Regions from separate parts of the Homo sapiens genome. Here regions 1, 2, 3, 4, 5 and 6 are each linked to region 7. Evidence: promoter capture Hi-C in 16 types of primary human blood cells and fetal thymus (Javierre and others, 2016). All regions are on one chromosome and are shown on one strand. Each heading gives the region's core, a stretch centred on a gene start or on the middle of the fragment in contact. The rest is flanking DNA. Distances are from core to core; before and after follow the strand shown.

Evidence for each region. The method cuts DNA at HindIII sites, captures the fragments that hold promoters and counts their contacts. A CHiCAGO score of 5 or more calls a contact.
Region 1: a fragment that was not itself captured here is called in contact with the fragment with the promoter of MON2-AS1 in region 7 in 4 of 17 cell types (naive B cells, non-activated CD4 T cells, total CD8 T cells and 1 more); the score reaches 6.6 in naive B cells.
Region 2: a fragment that was not itself captured here is called in contact with the fragment with the promoter of MON2-AS1 in region 7 in 5 of 17 cell types (naive CD8 T cells, non-activated CD4 T cells, naive CD4 T cells and 2 more); the score reaches 6.6 in naive CD8 T cells.
Region 3: a contact is called between a fragment that was not itself captured here and the fragment with the promoter of MON2-AS1 in region 7, in 1 of 17 cell types (naive B cells). The highest score is 6.3, in naive B cells.
Region 4: a fragment that was not itself captured here is called in contact with the fragment with the promoter of MON2-AS1 in region 7 in 1 of 17 cell types (non-activated CD4 T cells); the score reaches 5.0 in non-activated CD4 T cells.
Region 5: a fragment that was not itself captured here is called in contact with the fragment with the promoter of MON2-AS1 in region 7 in 1 of 17 cell types (total B cells); the score reaches 5.6 in total B cells.
Region 6: a fragment that was not itself captured here is called in contact with the fragment with the promoter of MON2-AS1 in region 7 in 7 of 17 cell types (naive B cells, total CD8 T cells, total B cells and 4 more); the score reaches 7.3 in naive B cells.

Annotation. Positions count from the first base shown.
Region 1 is chr12:62,289,247-62,292,429 of GRCh38, forward strand. All of the region lies in intron 1 of USP15 (ubiquitin specific peptidase 15), which reads left to right. Among named protein-coding and RNA genes, the nearest start is that of USP15, 30 kb to the left of the region's middle. The HindIII fragment of the contact is 480 bases long and covers 1,622-2,101 here.
Region 2 is chr12:62,721,622-62,724,849 of GRCh38, forward strand. The region is part of intron 5 of PPM1H (protein phosphatase, Mg2+/Mn2+ dependent 1H); the gene reads right to left. Among named protein-coding and RNA genes, the nearest start is that of MIRLET7I, 120 kb to the left of the region's middle. RefSeq lists an enhancer at 2,778-3,228. The HindIII fragment of the contact is 2,649 bases long and covers 1-2,605 here.
Region 3 is chr12:62,705,002-62,708,133 of GRCh38, forward strand. All of the region lies in intron 6 of PPM1H (protein phosphatase, Mg2+/Mn2+ dependent 1H), which reads right to left. Among named protein-coding and RNA genes, the nearest start is that of MIRLET7I, 100 kb to the left of the region's middle. The HindIII fragment of the contact is 1,675 bases long and covers 986-2,660 here.
Region 4 is chr12:62,671,187-62,674,268 of GRCh38, forward strand. All of the region lies in intron 8 of PPM1H (protein phosphatase, Mg2+/Mn2+ dependent 1H), which reads right to left. Among named protein-coding and RNA genes, the nearest start is that of MIRLET7I, 69 kb to the left of the region's middle. The HindIII fragment of the contact is 1,376 bases long and covers 1,127-2,502 here.
Region 5 is chr12:62,650,083-62,653,535 of GRCh38, forward strand. The region is part of intron 9 of PPM1H (protein phosphatase, Mg2+/Mn2+ dependent 1H); the gene reads right to left. It overlaps LOC124903103 (small nucleolar RNA U13), which reads left to right and starts at 1,093; the gene lies at 1,093-1,196. RefSeq lists an enhancer at 3,287-3,453. The HindIII fragment of the contact is 599 bases long and covers 1,111-1,709 here.
Region 6 is chr12:62,306,856-62,309,969 of GRCh38, forward strand. The region is part of intron 3 of USP15 (ubiquitin specific peptidase 15); the gene reads left to right. Among named protein-coding and RNA genes, the nearest start is that of USP15, 48 kb to the left of the region's middle. The HindIII fragment of the contact is 2,439 bases long and covers 149-2,587 here.
Region 7 is chr12:62,483,561-62,486,837 of GRCh38, forward strand. MON2-AS1 (MON2 antisense RNA 1) reads right to left here and starts at 1,382. Exons shown (of 2, transcript NR_186172.1): 1 at 1,209-1,382. MON2 (MON2 regulator of endosome-to-Golgi trafficking) reads left to right here. Exons shown (of 35, transcript NM_015026.3): 2 at 610-673. The HindIII fragment of the contact is 7,471 bases long and covers 890-3,277 here.

The DNA of each region.
Region 1 (3,183 bases), core at 612-3,111, 190 kb before region 7:
GAGATTTTCATCTTACTGATTTAATCTTAGTACTCATTATTGGTCTGTTCAGGGCTTCCAGTTCTTTCTGGTTCAGTACAATCTTGGGAGGTTGTATGTTTCCAGGAGTTTACCCACTTCCTCTAGGTTTTCTAGTTTGTGCATGTAGTGATGCTCATAGTAGTCTCTGATGACCTTTTGTATTTCTGCAGTATCCGTTATAATATCTTCTTTTTTATTTCCGATTGTGTTTATTCGAATCTTCTCTCTTCTTGGTTAGTCTAGCTAGCAGTCTGTCCGTTTTGTTTCTCTTTTCAAAGAACTAACTTTTCATTTCATTGATCTTTTTGTATTGTGTTTTTGGTCTCAGTGTCACTTACTTTTCCTCTGATCTTTATGTCTTTTCTTCTGTCAAATTTGGATTTAGTTCTTGTTTTTCTGTTTCATTGGGTGTGACATTAGGTTGTTAATTTGTGTGTGTGTGTGTGTGTGTGTGTGTGTGTGTGTGTGTGTTTAGACAGCAGTATAAACTTTCCTCTTAGCACTGCTTTTGCTGTATCCCAGAGGTTTGGTATGTTGTATCTCCTTTTTCATTCATTTAAACATTTTTTAAAATTTTCATCTTAATTTTGTTGTTGACCCAAAGATCGTTCAGGAACATGTTGCTGAATTTCCATGTATTTGTATAGCTTCAAGAATTCCCCCTTGGGATTGATTTCTAGCTTTATTTCACTGTGGTTTAAGAAGATACTTGATATGATTTCAATTTAAAAAAAAATTCTTTAAGACTTGTTTTGTGGCATACCATATGGCCTATTTTGGAGAATGTTTCATGCATGATGAAAAAGAATGTATATTCTGCTATTTGGGGCTAGAATGTTCTGCAAATGTCTGCCAAATACATTTAGTTTAGAGTCCAATTTAATTCTGGTGTTTCTTTGTTGGTTTTGTGTCCTGATGATCTGTCTAGTGCTGTCAGTGGAATATGGAAGTCCCCCACTATTATTGTATTGCTGTTTATATCTTTTCTTAGGTCTAGTAATATTAGTTTTATGAATCTGGGTTTGGGTCTTCTGGTGTTGGGTACATATATATTTAGGATTGTTATGTCTTTCTATTGAATTGATCCCTTTATAATAACTTTGTGTATTTTTTTACTGTTTTTGATTTAAAGTCAGCTTTATCTGATCTAAGTATAGCTACTCCTACTTGTTTTTGGTTTCCGTTTGCATGGAGTATCTTTTTGCACCCCTTTCTTCAGTCTGTAAGTTTCTTTACCACTAAGGTGAGTTTATTGTAAGCAGCATATAGTTGGATCTTGTTTTCTAAATTCGTCCTGCCAATCTTTATCTTTTAAGTAGAGCATTTAACTCATTTATGTTTAAGGTAAATATTGATATGTGAGGTTTTATTCCTGTAGTAATGTTAATTGTTATCACATTGCTTTGTAGTTTCGTTGGTGTAATTATTTTACAAGACCTGTGGATTTTTTACTTTCTTACATTTTTATGATGGCAAGTATTGACCCTTCATTTCCATGTTTAGACTTCCCTTGATCATTTTTGTAGAGCCAGTCTAGTGATGACAGATTCCCTCAATGATTGTTTTTCTAGGAAAGACTTTATATCTCCTTTATTCCTGAAGCTTTTTCTAGCAGGATACAAATTTTCAGGTTGACAGTTTTTTTTTTCTTTAAGCCTATTTTGAAAATAGAATCCCAGTCTCTTCTGACTTGTAAGTCATCTGCCAGGAAGTCTGCTGTTAGTCTGATGGAGTTTCCTTTGTAGGTGTCCAAATGCTTTTCTCTTGCTGAGACCACACAGTCTGATGACTCTATGTCATGGTGAGGCCCTTCTTGCAATGTATTTTTCTGGGTTTCATTGAGCCTCTTACTCTGGATGTCTAGATCACTTGCTGGACAAGAGAAGTTGGTTTTCCAAACTTTTTGCTTTCTTTTCTTTTCTTTCTCGAGAATACCTACAATTCCTAGATCCAGACATTTTATTGTAGTCTCCTACTTCTCAAAGGCTTTGTTCATCTTTAACATTCTTTTTTCTTTCTTCAAAAGACCTGTCTTTATGTTCTGAGATTGTTTATTCTCCTTGATCTAGTTTATTGTTGAAGCTTTCATCTGTATTTTGTAAATCCTTCAGTGAATTTTTTATTTTCAAAAGATTTCATTTATATCCTTAATTGATATTCTGTTTCTTTGTGTTGGTTTTTCACATTTTCCATGAATCTCATTGAGCTTCCTTAAAAATCAATATTGTGAATTATTTAGCATTTCAGTAATGTTGGTTAGGATTTATTGCTAGAGAGTTAGTGTGATCCTTTGAGGGTATCGTAACACCCTGTTTTTTCAAACTTCCAGAATTATTACACTGGTTCTTTCTCATCTGGAAAAACACATTTCTCAGTTTGAATTAATTTTTGTTTGAACGAGACTGTTTTCCCTTGAGGATGTGACTGTAATGTATGTTGAATATGGTCATTTGGCTTTGCTTCTGGGTGCTTTTAGTGGCAAAGACTCTATATGAATTTCCTGGTTTTAGATAGCCTTTGGTGGCTTTCTCAAACATCAGGTGTGATAGTGGTATACTTGGCTTGTGAGCAGGCTCACAGCCTCCTGTAAGTCAGGGTAGCAGAGGTCTCAAGAAGTGTATCTTGTTCCCAAATTGTGTGCATTTATGTTACCAGATTGGGTTGTGCAGTTCATCTCCAGGCCAATAAGTAGCATTTGCAGGTATGAGTCAGCTTCAGTGGTAACAGTGGGGTTTACGCTTGACCTTTGTTTGCCAGGGAAAGCTCAGATATTCTGATGACTGGCAGAGGCACCAGCCCTGACAAGGGTGGCAGGGGAGAGGGGAGTCATTGGGCCACTGGTAAAATGCACTGAGGTCTCTTGTGGAGAGGGGTGGGATGGGGGGGTGTGGGCCAGGTGATGAGCTGTCTTAGCACCCTGGCCTCAGCAGGCAGGAATGTGATGTTTCCCTCTCACACTCCTATTCTGGTGCTCAGGTTGTTCAGTTCTCTTAGACACTGCTGTTTATCTCCAAGCTGCAATGTAGCCTAGAACTACAGGAGATGCTTGCCCCATGGCTTGACAGTACACTTCTGTGCTATCTGGAAATGGGTGCCATGCAGACTCTGCTCCCTCCCCATGGCAGGACCCCTGAAACTCTAGGCAGAGAGTGGGACAGGACC
Region 2 (3,228 bases), core at 31-2,530, 240 kb after region 7:
TGAAGGGAACTAACACTTAATAGGTCAGGTCAACAGTGGTGCTTTGGGTGAGAAGAATTTGGGTGTGAATCCAAGCTCTGCTTTCATAAGCAATGTGGTTTTAGCAGGTTATTTAATTTCTTGGGCCTCAGTTTATCTGTAAATGAGATTAATTATATATCCCACACTGCTGTTTTCATAATGTAATGTCTATTAATATACTTAGTTGTTTCTGCTTACAAAAAATTATTATAGTCACCTAGTGATTATTGAATCCTATTATATCCTGAGTACTACACTCAGTGCTTTGAGAGTTCTAATTTCACCCTCTTAACAATCTTCTGGACAACACTGGCTACATCATTTGTGGGGCCCGGTGAAAAACAGAAACAGGGAGCCTGTGTTCAAAATCAAGAATTTCAAGACAGGGACAGCAGAGCATTAAACTAAGCAGAGCACTAAACTAAGCACGGCACCCTCCGCGACCGCACAAGTCACAGGCCCATGAAGCTCGTCATGCCTACTGGGTACATACTATTTTATTCTTTTTATTTTAGTCCGCCCATGAAAACTAAGGAACAAAGGCATAAGTGGTCAACGGACAGCACCATCTGTTATAAGCCCTTTATGATCTTTCAGAACTTTCAGATTGTATCAGCATGAATACAATCCACTACCCAAGCTGGACTAACATGGGCTTAGGGGTTACCATGTGCCAGCCCCATACCAGGTACTTCATACACCTGATCTTACTCCCCAACAATTTTACAAAGCAGGAGTCGATTTGATTTACAAATGAGAACACTACATCCTGGAGAGGTTAAGACCTAGCCCGAGGTCATTCGCCCAAGACTGGGTGGATCTTGAGCCTGAGCTTAATATCATGGTTATAACCCTCATCCTAACCATATTTTGGGCCTTTAACCTACACACACATTTTTACAAAAGATAGTAAAGGGGCCATAAGAGGCCTGTGATCCTTTGCACTTAGACCAAGCAAAGTCTGAATCAGTAAACCTTGTTAAAAGAACTCACACACACAGAGCCACACACAGTATGGGCACAAAAATGTCTCTGACATTATTTATAACATTAAATAACTAGAAGAAATCATTGAATGAATAACTCATTAAATAAACTAGCATAAACCCAAACAAAAGAATTCTATGGTGTCACTTACAATGACACTACAGAGAATATGCAATGACACAGAGTTGCGTTAAGTGTAAAAAAGCAGGTCATCAAACAATATGTGTGTGTGCATGAACTTGTGAGTGCTGGGTCATATATGCACAGATCTTTATAGAAGACATACATACGTACACAGATGCTCCTCTGCTTACAGTGGGGTTACATCCCAGTAAACCCATTGTAACCTGAAAATATTGTAAGTCAAAATGCATCTCATACAACTAGCCTACTGATCAGAGCTTAGCCTGGCCTACCTTAAATGTGCTCAGAACACTTACATTAGCCTACAGTTGGGCAAAATCATCTGGCAACACAGTCCACTGTAAAGTGTAGGTTGTTTACCCTCATGATTGGGTGGCTGACTAGGAGCTGCTGGCTCACTGCCACCGTCCAGCATCACAAGAGAGTATCATACCACATATCCCTAGCCTGGAAAAAGGTCAAAATTCAAAATCAATTTGAAGTATGATTTCTACCAAATGCATATTGCTTTCACAATATCAGAAAGTTAAAAAAAAAAAAGTAGCGGTGCTTTCATTCTGCTTTGTAAAATGAAGGCTGCCCTGATTAAAAAAAAAAAGTAAGTTGGGAACCATCTGTTTACAAATGAACATGTTATGGTCTGAATGTGTCTCCTAAAATTCATGTGTTGGCAATTTAACCCCTAATGCAACAATGTTGGGAGGCAGACTTTTTGGGAGGTGTTTAGGCCATGAAGGTAGAGCCCTCGTGAATTAATGCTGCTATAGAAAAGGGCTTGTGAGAGTGAGTTCACTCTCTTGCCCTTCCACCTTCTGCCATGTGAAAACAGAGCAAGAAAGCCCTTACCAGATGCTAGTGTCTTGATCTTGGGGCTTCCCAGACCCCAGAACTGTGATAAATTTTGTTCTTTATAAATTACTCAGTTTGTAGTATTGTTATAGCAGCACCAGACAGACTAAGGCTGTGTGTGTGTGTAAATACAGATACGTGGCATGCATATATATTATTAACAAACAGGTAAGAATCCAAACGACATTCCTGAGCACATTTCTTAACAAACCCCATGTCTAAGAAGGTGATGCATGTTCAGGACACACTACCTCCAATCACAGTACCTGGGCATTTGAGGGAACAGGAGAAGCAGCCCATAGAAACTAGGAAGAATTCCCCTTACTCCTCCTCTAAAGCAAGCCATGAGACCTAGCTCACCTTCCCCAGAAAATAGATCATTAAGACCCGATTCCAGAGGGGCCCTGCACCATACCCAGAGGAAAGAAATATCACACAGGGATGCCAAGATGATGCTGAACAAACAGGCCTTGCTAAGTACCCCTACCCCTGAGTTTATTACCATTAGATCTTTTGTCCTTTGATCAAACTTCTGTATGACTGTCCCTAAAAATACAGTTTGCCCTGTTTCCTTGGGGCTTTCTGAAGACATCTATGTGACATAAGCTTATATTAAATCAATTTGTTTGCTTTTCTCTTGTTAATCTGTCTTTTGTTATAGGGGCATCAGCCATGAATGGGTAAGAAATCTCTTCTCCCACATAAGGGTAAGTGTGGAGATTTCAGGCGCTTTGCCTCCTAACAGGAGGATGAGTGGGCCCTTTGATGGTGCTTTAAACCAGGGACCCTTGGGCTCTTTTTGGCTGATATCCATTTGCCTGGGTGGCTGCGTCAGAAGATCTGTTGAGGCAGATGTCTGTGGGTTAGTTGGGAACTCCTCAACAGCTTTGATAACTGCAGGGGCCACCTACCCTCTCCCTCTGAGGATGTGCAGGTTTGAAAGGGCCTTAAATATTGTGTCACTCTGAGGCGCCTTCACACACAGAGCCTTTCATGATTTCCACAAACTGCTTGCTTTCTTCCAGGATAACAACAGGGTATGATATTTCATCAAACATATATGCCATTAGACGCACCATCATTTTATTACTTCCAGGAAGAAAAAAAGCAGCCAATTAAAATATGTATAATTCTTTCTTAACACTTCAAATTTTAATTTTATCCTTTTCATAAGAGCTGAGACTTAGACACATTTTTATTATCTATCACTATTGTATATATTTAATA
Region 3 (3,132 bases), core at 573-3,072, 220 kb after region 7:
GGCAACAGAGATTGCTCTCATTTTGCTGGTCAATGTTCTTTGGGAGACTCTACTGGGTTACAGCAGAGGTTTCACCGGTGGTAAGAAATATATCAATCCTGTTAACCCAACATATGCACAAACACACGGCAAAAAACAATATTTACCCTAACTATGTGATATACACCGATATTTTCTTTCTATCCTGTGCTATTCAATTTGTTTAAAATGCTGCTCTCCATATACTAAACTGATTTCACAATCCTGTGAATGGGTCCCTACCCACAGCTCAAAGTTTGGTAGAAGAACAGAACCTGCTCTAAGTAGCTTCCAAATTAGGAGCTCAGGCTTTGACCAGATAAAAACAATGGGTTCTATTGGATTCATTTGCAAGTATTTACTGAGCACCTAGTAGGTGCCGGGCACTGGCACAGGTGCTGGGTATACGGAGTAGAATAAAGTAAACAAAGTGAAAGTCACCTTTTGATTCGTAGGCTGAGTTCAGCAGCAGAAAAGGATGCACTTGGAAAAAAATCAGTATTTTTAAAAAAAGTAATCATGTGTATGTATAAAACAGAACTAATAATATTTCAGGATAAAACATTATGAATGACTCTTAAGGAAATTCCAGATTTGGAAATTATTTCTGATTCAGTATCCACTTGGTGTGCATTCACACTTGGCCGTAACAGCTTCATATTCTAATCAATAACATTTAGCTCTCTCCACCGATATGAATCAGAGACCCTTACTTCATGAGCACACAAATGTGAAGTGATTTCAGCTTTCTCAGAGACCATTTATTCTGAAATAAACATGAATTTCATTGACATTCCCTTTATACTGTATGAGATCAAGTCAATATATACAAATCAGGATATGAACAAAATGGACCCCATAGCTACAAATGGTGGGGTGAAAATAGCAAACAGATTATTAATTACAAAGAGGGTTTCTGCTGCACAGGCAGTTCCTCTGTGTCGGCCCTTGCGGCTTTCCCTCACGAAGCTTCTCCCACTCTGCTCAGATGGATATTCATATCATGGAGCAGAGTCCTGCAGTGTCCCCTGGGAGAAGCCACATGCAGGGACTTTAACCTATGCTACATCATTTCAAGGCTTTCCACCCAAGTGCCTTTGAACTGATAACATTACACGGTGCAGATCTCAAGTATCAGTGCTTTGAGTCTTCTGTTTTATCTTTAAAAACCATGAGAGTTTTGCACAAGCCTACAAATGAAGTCCTTCTACCTCACTCCCAAAATTTTCAGGTGAAATAGAGGCTTATCTTGTAGCTTCCCATACTCTTCTGAAATCTTCTACTAACCCCCATATTATTCAGGCCGCCAAGGCAAGAAGCGCAGGCCTGAGTAACAGCTGTCGATATTTACCAAAGGGAGGAATACCACACTCTTAGCTCCTGCATCCAGGTGGCCCTGTTGTTTCAGAGGATGGAGAGCAAAGGCAGCCATTGTTAAATTTTCTGCTGTCACCTCACGCCCAGCAGTTAACGGATTTTCACATACCCCAATGTTTATTATGCAATCTTTTTGTTCCAGGCACTAAGGATTTATATTTTTAAAAACTTACATAATCCTCACTGTAACACTGTAAGCTAGATAGAAACATTATCCTCATTACACAAATAAGAAAATGGAGGCATAAGAGAGGTCATATATCTGGGAGGAAATAGGGGTCAAGCTCACTTCAGGTCTGTCCCAACAGTTACACTCTTAACCACGCTTCTCTGTGCCTCTGTGAAGAGCTAGGAATCTGCATAAATGCCACAAAATGGCATGAGATGCAAAAGAATGTTTAATTATTAATTCTCTTCCTAAAATTAAATTGTAAAAAAAAAATTTAAGCTCATCTTCACATTCTAGGTTTTTATAATGGTCAGTCGCATAGAAGTTAAAACATACCAGTACTCCTAGGGTTGAAAACTAGGGTTGTCTCTTAACAATACTGCAGATGTACAAGATCACTATAGAATTAGATTTAACCTGAGCTTTGACGTTCAAAGTGCTCAGGTGCAATAAACTCAGACTCCAAATTTTCATACCTAGGTGCCCAGTTTTCTATAGGGTGATCCAATGTGACCCAGAGGATCAGGCCTTGGAGATGGGGTGTGTAGCATTTACTGAAGATGAGCAGGAATCAGAAACCATTAAGTTAAATGCCCTGGGCAGCATGGTCTCCTGACCTATCCCATGTATTTATACTATGTGTGAAGCCTGGACTATCCAGGTTATGGGCACAAAAAGGAAAAAGAGGAGGCCTAATTTGACCCTGACCCACCGTTGCACCTGAAGGCTTTACCATCCCTTATCAGCCACTGCCAGTCCAGTCTACTGGCACCTTATGAACAGTCACTGGCTCACTGCAGGTGGACAAAGACATTCCCAAGCAATAGCAAGGGGATAACCAGGGGCAAAGACCACCAGCAGCCCAGGAGTCACAATACTTTGACAGCCCAGGCTGCCCAGCGCTCTTTAACCGACCACTTCTGCAAACTGTTATTCATATCCATTGTAACAAACTCTAGGGCTGCCCAAAGTCAATGTTTAAGGATATACAGCAATCGCCTGGGGTGCTTATTAAAAAATGCAGAATCCATAGAGATTCTAATTCAGCAGATAAAATAGACCCTGAAATGTTTTCAGTAATTGCCCCAGATGACAAAGCTTCAATGTAGGTAAACCTTTGTCTATTAGTTTTGTATGAAACTGTAATCATCCATATATGGCCCTGTCCTGACACTAGACTGTAAACACCATGAGGGTTGGCACTGTTTTTTTCTGCTTTGTATCTTCAATGCCCAACCTAATACCTGGTTCACTTAATGAATAGTAGTTGAAACTGATTGTCCCACAGAGATGAAGCTCTGTGCCTTGTCCTTTAGGTACAGAGAGTGATACATAGCATCTGATCTACCCTGGAAGACTGACAAGGCTGATCCCATCTCAGCAGAATCTGAACCTGGAATATGGCAGAATACTACAGCTTTTGCCAGAGCAACCAGGTGAAGAACAAAAAGTGAATGTGTTCCATCCCCTCATGAGGCTTCTGAAGCTTTCCTTATGATCTGATTACAACAAAGGAGAGAGGCAACTGACAACACACTAGTTCTGAAACACCGCTGGCATCTTTGTTA
Region 4 (3,082 bases), core at 565-3,064, 190 kb after region 7:
AAACTAATGGGCTCTGAAGCTCCCCAGGACTCAGACATCTGGAAGAGTCTTTGCAGCCCTGGAGGGGACAGGTGTGCTACAGAAACGGCTTTGAAGTGGGACTGGGGGACATGGTCAGACCTTCTAATGGCTCCTTCCCGGGTTCCCATCCACCAAGAAAGGGAGAAAAAAGCCAGACGAATCCTTGAGATTCTTGCAGTTTTTCAGAACAATATAATCTGAGCAGCTAAAAAATGGGACCTGTGTGGACCTGCCTTTCTGCTGCCTTCAGTACGCTTTTATTGCATACTTGCTGTGTGCCAACTCGTTTTCCAGGCACTGGGGACACAGTGACTAAAACTGACAAAGCCTCTCACAACTTCTAAACTAGTAGATGAGATAGACACCCAAATAAATTACAATGTCAGAAGATGAAAGATGCTCTGAAGAAAAATCCAGCATGGTAAGGAGAACAATAGAGTCATTTTAGAAGATGAGGTCATGGTGGACCTCTCTGGGAAGGTACCATCTGAGCGAGTCAATTTCCCATGGGTCCCTTCTTGCACCTCCCCAACCTTCTTTTGGATTCCTGTTACTCAGTGTTAGACTGGTGGTGAAGAAGGGAGGGCTGAGAAAGGTGGGTGTCACTCTCTCCTGCCAAAGCAACCCTAAGGAGGACCAAAGAGAAGCCATCTTTCTTTTCCCTGGTCCTCTGCAGGCACAATCCTTTCACACCCACTAATATAAGATTTACCTATATGCTTTACTGTGGGTAAATCTTTGTCTGTCAGTTTTGTGTGAAACTGTAATCATCGATTTATGGCCCTGTCCTGACACTAGACTGTAAACACCATGAGGGTTGGCATTGTTTTTTTCTGCTTTGTATCTTCAATGCCCAACTTAACACCTGGTTCACTGAATGAATAATCGTCGAAACTGATTGTTCCACAGAGATGAAGCTTTGTGCCTTGTCCTTTAGGTACAGAGAGTGATACACAGCATCTGATCTACCCTGGAAGACTCTCAAGGCTGATCCTGTCTCAGCAGAATCTGAACCTGGAATATGGCAGAATACTATTGCTTTTGCGAGAGCAACCAGGTGAAGAACAAAAAGTGAATGTGTTCCATCCCCTCATGAGGCTTCTGAAGCTTTCCTTATGATCTGATCACAACAAAGGAGACAGGCAACTGACAAACAGCACACTGGCCCTGAAACACCGCTGGCATCTTTGTTATCAGCCTTTCAGGGCCCACTTTTCTGTCTCTTCTAAAAGACTAGATATTCTCAAACCTAAATGTGTTTAGAATCACTTGGAGTGCTACCTTAACCAAGTTAAGATTCAAAGATCCTACCTGTAAGAGTCTTGATTGTACAGATCTGAGCTGCATACTTCAACAGGACCCCAGGGAATTCTGATGCAAGTGGTGGGGGGAATCTCACCTTGAAAAACTGTAACAGACGATCAACTCCTTTAGGGATAAGGTCCATCTTATCCTATCTGTTTTTGTACCCAGAACAGAGCACTGTGCCTAGCACTCAATTCACAACCGAAGAAAGCATTTCCTTATTGGGTATTTTACCCCTGTCCAGCTTACAATGAACACCCAGGGGGTTGGTCATCTTATTGTCCCACCAAAATTCAACTTCTGAAGGCCCAGAAATCCCAATTTGTATTTCCTCTGTGGGTCTAGCAGCATCTTCTATAGTGTAAACCACAGTAGGTCTTCAGGACATACTTGCTGAGGCAAAGCATAAACAGGGGAAGGAGAGTGGAAGAAACAAATTAAACATACAAGATACTTTCAGAAGACCCCCTCATTTCACGGTGATCCAACAGATTTAGTTTGTTAACTGAGACACTTCCAAATCGTCAAACAAATGTAATGTGCTGATATATAACAGAAGTGGCAAACTCTTTCCTTTTCTTCCTTTGTTTTCAGTGGAGCTGCCAATAAACATTCAGTGTGGGGGAGCAGGAATAAGTCTGGGGGCAAACAAGAACCTTGACTAATGTGCTCTGAATGAGCCAAGTGCTGACTGCTCTCACAGAGCCCTCAGCTTCAGAGCACTTAGAGATGTCCTTAATGTCAACATTGGGCACTTATTTTACACAGGAGCCTGTGACAAGCAACTCTTTAATACAGCACCTCCACTTAGTGCTCGGCTGCAGGCTGCTGTTTCAGCGTTTGTGTAATACTTGCTCCCATCTTTGCCTTATTACTGATGATATTTTGGTGGCATGTTAGGAGGGCTCATACACCTATAAGCTGACTCTGGCTTCTTAAAGCTACTTTTAAAAAGAATCCATCAATTCTTCCATTTGCCAAATCTCTGCCGCTTCTCTAGGATGCCCTCACAGCTTTTGTGTCTTGATCAGTTCAGCAGATTCTCCAAACTGGTTTTTCCCTTTTAAGTACTCAATGTAGGACAATGAGCTCCTGCAGCTCAGGACTGGCTTTGTGGAAGAGAAAGAGGCTTGCCCTTGTTATCAGAAGCCTTGCTTCAGGTCTCTGCTTCTAACAAGCTTTGTGACTTGAGAAGAGCCACTCTTTTTTTTTTTTTTTTTTTTTTTTTTTTGAGACAGGGTCTTGCTGTGTCGCGCAGGCTGGAGTGCTGTGGCACAATTCTGGCTCACTGCAGCCTCAACCTGCCACACTCAAGCAACCCTCCCATCTCAGCCTTTCAAGTAGCTGGGACTACAGGTGCACACCACCTATACTTTTTTACTTTTTGTAGAGACGAGTTTCATCATGTTTCTCAGGCTGATCTCAAACTCCTGAGCTCAAGAGATCTGCCCACCTTGGCCGTCCAAAGTGCTGGAATTACACGTACACACCACTGCACCTGGCCTAGCGCTCAATTTTCCTATCTCTGAAATCATTTTTCAAAAACTGAAAAACACAAGAAAAAGGAAATATAACAACTGCTCTACTTCTCTCACAAAGCTGTAATTAAGATCAAATAATGTGGAAGGGAACTGCCAATTTTAATTCTTTTATGGCACTGATCTCAGGGCAACCACATCTGAATATCGTCTAGTTGGTAGAAGGAAAGGATTAAGAGTGGGCTCAGGGAAACTGGGATTCAATTCCCAAAGTCTCA
Region 5 (3,453 bases), core at 160-2,659, 170 kb after region 7:
CCATTTCTTTTGCTAAAATTCACAGACTTTCATGTTGAGAACTGCATCATTGTTACATTATTTAAGAACAAGTCCTCTAACAAATGATCCCAGGATTGTGAAGATTCCAAGTTGTTCAGTCTTTGAGGATCAAGTCTATTTGTACAGCCCAGATAGCAGACAGAAGTGTAACATACACTACAGCAGAAAGGATATTATAGTCAATACAAAATAAATACCTTTCCTTCTAGAGGATGGGGTAGTAGGTGAATAATTTTTTCTATCTGTATTGAGAGAATTATCATCTTTGAGGCAGAAATCTTTAAGTTATTCTTGAGGGAAGATGCAAACAGTTCGTCCTGAGGTTCTCCTCCTCTTGAGATCAGGAAATAAAGGCCTCCAAAGAGATCTTTGGCTGAAGAGCTAAGTAAATATCTGAAAATCGACATATTGCAGCTCATACACTATAGTCAGAAAAGCCTCTCAGCTGCTCACCTCATTCTCACACTGCTATGAAGAACTACCTGAGACTGGGTAATTTATAAGCAAAAGAGGTTTAATTGTCTCACAGTTCCGTATGGCTGGGAAAGTCTTAGGAAACTTAAAATCATGCCGGATGGTGAAGGTGAAGCGAGGCATGTCTTACATGGCAGCGGGAGACAGTGAGTGAAGGGGGGAAATGCCACACTTTTAAACCATCAGATCTCGTAAGAACTCACTCACTCACTATCGTAAGAACAGCATGGGGGAACTCGGTCCCCATGATCTAATTGCCTCCCACCAGGTCCCTCTCCTGACATGTAGGGATTACAATTCGACATAAGATTTGGGTGGGGACACAGAGCCAAACCATATCACCCCAGCTTACTCTTAGTTTTATATTAAATTGTATATGAGACATAAACACATGGGGAAAGGCCACCAGCCACACCAGAGTGATGTTTATTATCCTGGTGATTGATCAGTCTGCACCTGAGCTTTTTAGGTTCAGAAACCTGGCTAAGTTTATTTGCCTATCAGGCCTGAACACACCTTAACCCAGGTATGAGCTGACTAGACATAGAAAATTATGGTATGCTATGAGAAAATATGCCTGACAATAAAAGATACTCAATCCTTTTGTAGTTCATAAGCTTGATGTTTGAGTTTTCACACTTACGTGTGAAATGTGCCTCCCTTAAACCTTGTTACTACGTCAGCACATTACCCATGAGACATGGAAAAAGAGATAGACAGACACTCAAAGATGTCAAAAAACAGATACAGGAACTCAAAACACAACTCTTTATGGCTATTTTAAGCTCCAAACAGGCCTCAACAGGTCCTGCAGTCATGGAGAAATGACTGGCTTTATTAGAGTCATGAAAGATGAACAAGAGACCACCCTGATGCTGCTATTACTAGTGACTTTGCATATTTTTTAAATGGTCAAAATTAGCTTGGTATTTTTAAAAAGCAAGGATTAGGTCACCTAGAAAAGATGGCTACCCAGGAAACTCATTTCCCTGAGGGCTGTAGGTAATTAAGGTTTCATTCTTCAATATGGTTATTTCCTATTCCAAGATAACTTCCTTTGAGATTGGTTCTCTCTTCACCATCCACTCTGTTTTCCCTTAGGTGCTTAACTTCCTGAGGGAAAATCCACTCTTGCTTTCTCAATTTATTACTTCCCATTTTCTTCCTTTGTCTCTTACCAGTAGGCCCAATACTCTACTAATCTGTCCTCTTAAAGCTTGATCCAAGGGTGGCTTCTCAATACTTATTCTGCTTAACCCTTTGTGTTCAGCACAAATACTGCTGATTATTTTATCCTTAAAAATCTCTGTTCTTGAATTCTCCTTTCTTTCTGGGGCTCCCATGCCATAACCCACTCCAAGTTCTCCTGTGACTGGGCTTCCATGACACACAGCACAAGTCCTTCTCTCTGATGCTCCTTCTTAATTTCCTTTGTAGGCCCTAACTAAGACTTAGGAAGAACTCAATGATCATTAATTTCTTTTTACTTCCAAAGTGGAACATCCCCAGCTATCATCCTTAGTTAATGGTATCCTGGTCTCTTAGGCAAGAAATCATAGTGTTTTTCAATGCCACTTTCACACCCTGATATTGTTCAATTATGAAATCCACAGGGCAGTGTAGGACTTCTAAACTTTGCATTATTATTATTCAGAGACAGGGCCTCGCTCTGTCATCCAGGCTGGAGTGCAGTGGCATAATCATAGCTCACTGTAACCTTGAAGTCTTGGGGTCAAGTGATCCTCTCACCTCAGCTTCCCAAGTAGCTAGGACTAAGGCATATTCCACCATGCCCAGCTAATAAACTTTGCATTATTTTAAGTGTATTTTATTAGTAGCACATGGCTAATTAAAACAAAATCCATATAGTCACTAAGATGATAATTTTGTTTATTGCAAAAACTGGTAGACCTGTACCTATATTTTGCAGTCATATATACACACACATATGAAAACTTATTTTGTGTTTTTAATTTATTATGTGCTTCTTTCCTTCTTTCTTGTTTTCTGTCAGGTGGATAGCTTTAATATTCCCCTCCCCCAACTGGATTGGAAGTGTTATTTCTATTATCAGTTATGTTAAATTTTTAGTATATAAGTTAATCGTATTTCTGTCCTCCTGAAAATAAAAGGACCTTAGAATGCCTTCTTTCATTTTCCATGTTACTGCCTATTATTTTAATTCACCTTTTTTTGAGCCTGCCTTAATCATTATCATTTACAATCTACACTTACATAAATAAACCAACATACTAACTTCTTTGCTTTTTATGAAACTACTCCTTGCTTCTGGATTTAATTTCCTTCCATTGAATTACATTTTTAGTAATTTTTTTAACAATGGTCTGTGAGTGGTAAGCTCACCTAGTCTTTGGATTAAGAAAATCTTTATTTTTACCTTTGATTTTGGCTGATAGCTTTATTGTTATGCAATTCTAGATTGTCTGTTATTTTCCCTCAGCAGTTTGAAGACATTATTCTGCTTACTTCTGACTTCTACTCTTTTTGAGAAGTCTGTCTTTTATCATTCCTTTATAGGTAAATGGCTTTTGTCATTGATAGCTTTTCAAGTTTTTGTGTTTTTGTTGCTGATATGAAGTACCACTAAGACATAACAAAAAGGAGCTTTTTACTTATCATGGTAAGAAATTAGTTTTACTCTTTCAAACTGAAAACTTCTGAAAAATTCTCAGCCATCAACTTTTTGGATATTGCCTCTCCTCTATTTTGTAGATATTCTCCATAAACTCTTATTAGATCTTATTTTACCTTGCAGATTTCAACTTCTCTGCGATATCTTTCAATTCACTAACTCCCTTTAGCAGTTTACTATCCATTTAGTGAATTACTTTGTTTCAATGACAGTGTTTCACCGTTGTGAATTTCTCTTTGGTTCTTGTCCAAAGAACCAAATTGACCTCTTCTGACCTTATGATTCTATTTGCACAAGTTTAACTC
Region 6 (3,114 bases), core at 118-2,617, 180 kb before region 7:
AAGGTCATGCCTCACAGTACTATTCAGACAAAAGGCCCTATAAAGTATTTAAGGGTTAACTTAGAGGTTGTCCTGTCAGTAGTAATATTAATTAATATTAAGGGTGTCTTCTCAATATGTGGCTTCTAAGAACAGGAGGGCTTCAAGAAGCTTACGGGCAACCCCTTAGCTTTCTCAGCATAAAGCCAAAGTAGAGAGGACTTATCCTACAGAACATTTGTGGATATGGCTTTTGTCTAATGGAATGAACTCCAGTAAGATCCAGTGGAGACCTACATTGTTTTCGAATTACCTCGCAGAACCACTGCCATTTTGGACTGCAGAAGCAGTATTAAATGAAAGACGCCTTTGACCTCCCAAACTCCAATAAGTAGGAATCAGGCTGAAAATTTACTTAACTTCAAGCATGTGCTAATGCATGAAAAAAGGATGACTCAGAGAACAGAACCAAATGTTAGATAGAATAATTTTCAGGCAAGGGTAGAACTGAGTTCCAGTCAAGGAATTTCTAGTATTTGTCCAGGTAGATTTCATAATCGTTATGGACCATTGATTCCTTTGTACGTCCTATTTCCCCTCTTACAAAACAGGAATATTTAAAAGGCTATGTTCTGTGTGCTTCATTGTTTTATTTTGGGTGTATGGGGGGCAGAAAACTTGTCTCTTAGTTCACAGGCCTATACATCAAGAGGCACTACAGTAGTCCCCCTTATCTATGGTTTTGCTTTCCGCGATTTCAGTTACCTGCAAGCAACCATGGTCCAAAAATATTAAGTGGGAAATTCTGGAAATAAACAATTCGTGAGTTTTAAATTGTGCACCATTCTGAGTAACATGATGCCATCCCACTCCATGTCCTCCCCATGGACACTATACACTACCTTCCCGTTTGTCACTTAGTAGCCATCTTGGTTATCAATCTACTGTCACAGTGCTTTGTTGAAGGGCATTAGTAGCATAATGCAGCGTTACAATGTACATCATTCACTTCACCTCTTCTCATCAGGTAGACATTTAATCATCTCATATCATTACAAGAAAAAGGGTGAGTACAATATGATAAGCTACCTTGAGAGACCACATACACATAACCTTTATTATAGTATATTGTTCTAATTGTTCTATTTTATTATTAGCTATTGTTAATCTCTTAGTGTGCGTAATTAATAAATTAAACTTCGTCATAGGTATGTATGTTTGTAAAGGAAAAAACATAGTGAATATAGGGATTAGTGTGCTATTTGTAGTTTCAGGCATCCACTAGGGGTCTCGGAATATATGTCTTCAAAGGCTTATAGAAAATTTATAATTTGTCAATTATAGATGACAAATTTCTGAACTCCAGGTTGCTAAAATGAATTGAGACTAGTTGGGGCCTTTGGAAGAACTGAGTGTATTTTGTATTTTGGGGGAAGGAACTGTGAATCATTGGGGGCCAGGGGGTAGACTGTGGTAGCCAGCCTCAAAGATGCTCCCCAGTGATTGTGACCTCTTAGAATCCTTAGTCTGGTGTAATCCTTTCCCACATTGTACGACAGTTGGTCTATGCAGTCAGTAGCATGTGGCAGAAGTGGTGGTATGTCACTTCTGAGATTAGTCCTTAATGGATGCCTGTACTTCTATTGGGAGTGCACATACCTCCCTCATCCCCTCCCCTCGGATCACTCACTCTGGGCGAAGCCATAACTTTGCCCTTAACTTACCCTATAGAGAGACTCACATAATGAGGAACAGAGGCTGCCAACAGCTACATGAGTGAGCTTGTAATTAAGATTTGAACAACATGATTAACCACCATAACCTAATTGACATGTACATTGTACTTAGTCATTGCAGAATACACATTTCTATTAAGTGGAATTTTTAAGCAAAATTGACCATATTCTGGGTTATCAAAATTCCAGTAAACTTCAAATGATAGAAATTGTTCACTGTATTTTCTGTCATTAGTGGGATTAAGCTAAAATCAGTAACAAAGAGATAACCTGATTATCCCCCAACTATCTAGAAATGGAAAAATATACTTTTAAGTAATCCTTGAGGCAAAGAGAAGAATGAAAATTAGACATATTTTAAACTGAATAATAATTAAAATACAACTTAAAAGATTGGCTGAAATTCTCAGAAGGAATTTTATAGCTTCAGTGCAAATATTGGAAAAGAAAGTGAAAATCTATTGTCTCAACAAGTTAAGGAAATTGAACTTAAGAAGAAACATTATAATGTAGACATTAACAAAATAGAAAACAAACCTACATTAAATGAACAAAATTCAGTCATTGTAGAGAGCAGTGAAATTAGACCAGTAAAGTAAAGATGAGTCCTGGCAGGATTGTTTAAGAATAAAAAGAGAGTAGGCACAAATAACCTATATTGCGAATGAAAAAGGAAACATCATAGCAGAGTCTAAAGACTTTTTTGAAAAGATTATGTTTTGAACAGTTTTATGTAAATTTGAAAATTTAGATGAAGTGGATAATTTCTAGACAAACAGAACTTTAAAATGTCAATACAGTAAGAAATAGGAAACTCGAATTCACCTATGTGATTAAAGAAATTGAGTCATTGAAAACCTTCCCACAAAGAAAGCTTCAGGCCAAGAAAGCTTTACCAGTGTATTCTACCAAATATTTAGGGAAGCCATAAACCAATACCACACAGATTCTTTCTGAGAATAGAAGCAGTACTCCCCAACTTATTTTATAAGGCTAGCATAAACATGACATAAAACCTGAAGGACATTACAAGAAAGAAAAATTACAGGCTGGTCTCACTCATGAACATAGATGCTTAAGTCCTAAACACAATGTTAGCAAGACAAATCCAGCATTATGTAAAAAGGACAAAAATGACCAAGGTGGATATTTTTCAAAGAATACAATTTTAACTTTGAAAAGCATTCATAATTTTAGCAGACTAAAGGAGAAAAATAATCTCAATAGAGATACAAAGAACATTTGATGCTCAACATCCATGTATGATCTTAAAAAAAAAAACTCCTAGAAAACTAGGACTAGAAATCGCCTGTAAATATTGTACTTATTGGTAAAATATTAAAAGTTCTTCCCAAGTCAAGAATAACTGTGTTAGAAATCTTAGCCAGTATGGTAATAT
Region 7 (3,277 bases), core at 132-2,631:
CAAAAATTAGCCAGGCATGGTGGTGGGTGCCTGTAATCCCAGCTACTTGGGAGGCTGAGGCAGGAGAATGGCTTGAACCAGGGAGGCGGAGGTTGTAGTGAGCCAAGATCGTGCCATTGGACTCCAGCCTGGGCAACAAGAGCAAAAAACTCCATCAACAATAAATAAATAAATCCAACACAGTAGTTTTACTTGATTTTGCAGTGTTCTATAATTTTTTTGTGTGTGGTGGAGAGAGAGGAGGCTTGAAATGGGGAAAAGGAGCCTAATTATTTTCAGTAGATTTTGTTTTTGTTTGTTATTTTTATTCTCGGAAAATTTAACTTTGCAGGGGATTGAGGTATTCCAGATAATGCCTTAAGGCAGAGGAAGGCAACATGTTGTAGTGCATTCAGAGTTTGCATGTGAATAATCAAATTAATCATGTTTTATTACATTTAACGTATATGTCACTACTGGGCTTAGTATCTGATGGTTTGAAAATTAAAAAGGTGGTAGGGTAGTGACTGACTTTGTGCTTGATATTTTGTCTATCACATATGACTTATTTTCCATAGATAATTCATTTTGGCAGTAAATTTTGTGTTCTAATTATTTTTATTCTTGCAGGCTGCTGAATCAGGAATAATAAAAGTTAAAACAATTGCTGCACGAAACACTGAAATTTTGGCAGGTAATTTTTTGTATTAAAAATTTAATAATAAACAAAAATTTGACTAATAGTAAAAGTAGAATCTTTATTGTAAAAGCCATCAGTTTTCTGTAACATCTCTTCCTCATGCCCTAACATATGCTATTCATAATGAAACAGAATGGGCAAAAGTCCATAACTTATGAACTGACTGTATTTCCCAGAGACGAATGCTACAAAAATTCTCTGAAATCAGAAAGCTTAACACTACTGACTCCTTAAAGGCAAGGAATTTTTTCTTACTCATCTTCGCATTCTCCTCCACTTCCTGCTAATCACCTGAGACACACCATAAAAAGCATTCAGTAATATTTGTTCCATTGTATTGAATGAAAGATTTGTTCTCAGTCCACCTTCTGTGATCTACTTTCTCTTTAATATAATACGAACAGTTCATAACATAGTCTTCTGTATTTAGTTGTACCGTATGAATTTTGAGTCTTGGGATTAAGGCAGTATGATCATGAAAAAAGAATGAGAGTGAAGTAGAGAAAAGAAAACAAAAATGTTTTCTTACCTTCTCTTGATTGAACCTGATTTTCAAGGAGGAATTTTCAGGAGTTTCTCTTTGGCATCCTTCTTTTCTACCCAGTCCACTCCTTTCTCTTCCTTGGTGCCTTTTGTTCTTGCCTCAATAATGAACATGGAAAAGAGGTAAACTGGCTTTTTTTTTTTTTTTTTTTTAAGAATCTGTTATATGCAAGGCACTTGTGTCATTCTATCTTACATAACAACCTTGTGGGGAAATATTATCTTATTTGATAGTAGAGCTAATTGAGATGTGAAGAGGTTAAGTTACTTGCCCAAGGTCACAGGAAAGGTGATAGAACCAGATTAAAATCCAGGAGTGTTCAGGAGCCCATGTTCTTCCTGCTACAGTGTGCTACCATGGTATCACCAGGTTTCCACGTTAGCCACTTACTCCCAAGTATTACATATGTAACCAGTGCTTGCTTCAGTGATCCTTTAATCTGCATTTCCAGTTCCAGTAGTGCTGTTGATCTCAGCTAATCTATGAGGAAAGTAGTCCTATTAAATTAATTTACAGAGTCCAAATAGTAAATAATCTCTTTAACTTTCATATACTTTACATTTTTTAAAAGGGATACCAGTAAATCTGTAACTGGTGGGATTTCAGAGTGTTATGAAATGAAATTAAGATTTTTGGGGTCAGATTAAGGATCGGGGGCAAGAGTGGATTTCACTTAGGCTATCCAGCTTTGCTGGAAATTTGCCCTTAGCATAAGCGCTCCTCAATTACATCTGTTTCCCACAGCTTTTTCCCTGATTTTGAACAGTCTTATCAAAACACCCAATAGTTTTATAACATTATGCACAGAAGTAAATAATGCTCTGTGTGCATATTGAGAAGTGGTATAGTGAAAGTGGTGGGTAAAGGCAGAGGTGCACATGGTAGGGTTAGGAAGGCTGGCAAGTGGGTTTTTTTTGTTTGTCTGTTTGTTTTTCCTGAGATGGACTTTTGCTCTTGTTATCCCAGCTGGAGTGCAATGGTGTGGTCTCGGCTTACTGCAACCTCTGCCTCCTGGGTTCAAGCGATTCTCCTGCCTCAGCCACCCGAGTAGCTGAGATTTCAGGTGCCCAACACCACATCTGGCTAATTTTTGTATTTTTAGTAGAGACAGGGTTTCATCATGTTGGCTAGGCTGGTCTCGAACTCCTGACCTCGGGGTTCTCCCGCCTCGGCCTCTCCAAGTGTTGGGATTACAGGCGTGAGCCACTGCGCCCGGCCAGCATGTGGGTTTTAATGGGAGATGTACATTAGGCAGATTAGCTACTGTGGGGAAATTGGTGTTTAAAGAAAAATGATGACCTGGATATTTTTATGTTGGAGACTTACCATAGGCCAATCGTATTAGAATATCACTGTAAATATTTAAAATATTTACTGTTGCTAATATCATTGTTGATACCGTGGTAAGTCCTTAATTATTCTCCAATAATACAAATTTTTATTGGTTTTATAGTTTGTGGAAGACTTTTTTTAAAAAAAGACTGATTTCCTCAGAGGATCACTGTTATTCCAGCATTCTATCCCAAGTAAAATGTCTAATAAATTACTCTTAAGATGAGTAAGAAAAATTTTGACTTAGTCGGTATGATTTAAATATATAGGCAGGCTGTTAATTTCATTTTAATTCAATTTGCATTATTCAAATCAAGTTAGAACAGATCTGGTGCAAATACAATTAATAGTCATGTTTTAATCTTCGTAGTATCCAGAGCCCATATACTTGAGGAGGTATATTTGCACTTAAACTTTATCCTAGTATTTTTTCTGAAGTATTTAAAGCAATTATACCTAAAAGTTGTAGATTTATAGACCACTATCATCTTGAAAATCAGAGGCTCTTCAAAACAGAGTTTAAATTAGTCAGTATATAGTTTCTAAACTATATAATTAAGAGTACAGTTAATACTGAGAAAAATTTTTAGTTAACTTTTTAAAATTTCATGAGAAGTATTTACTTCTTTATGGTACTTGAGACTATAGGAGACTATACTACTTTTGTGCTCTAATGTATGTCAAAAATACCAAACAATTGAGGAGTCTCAAATGAGATTGGA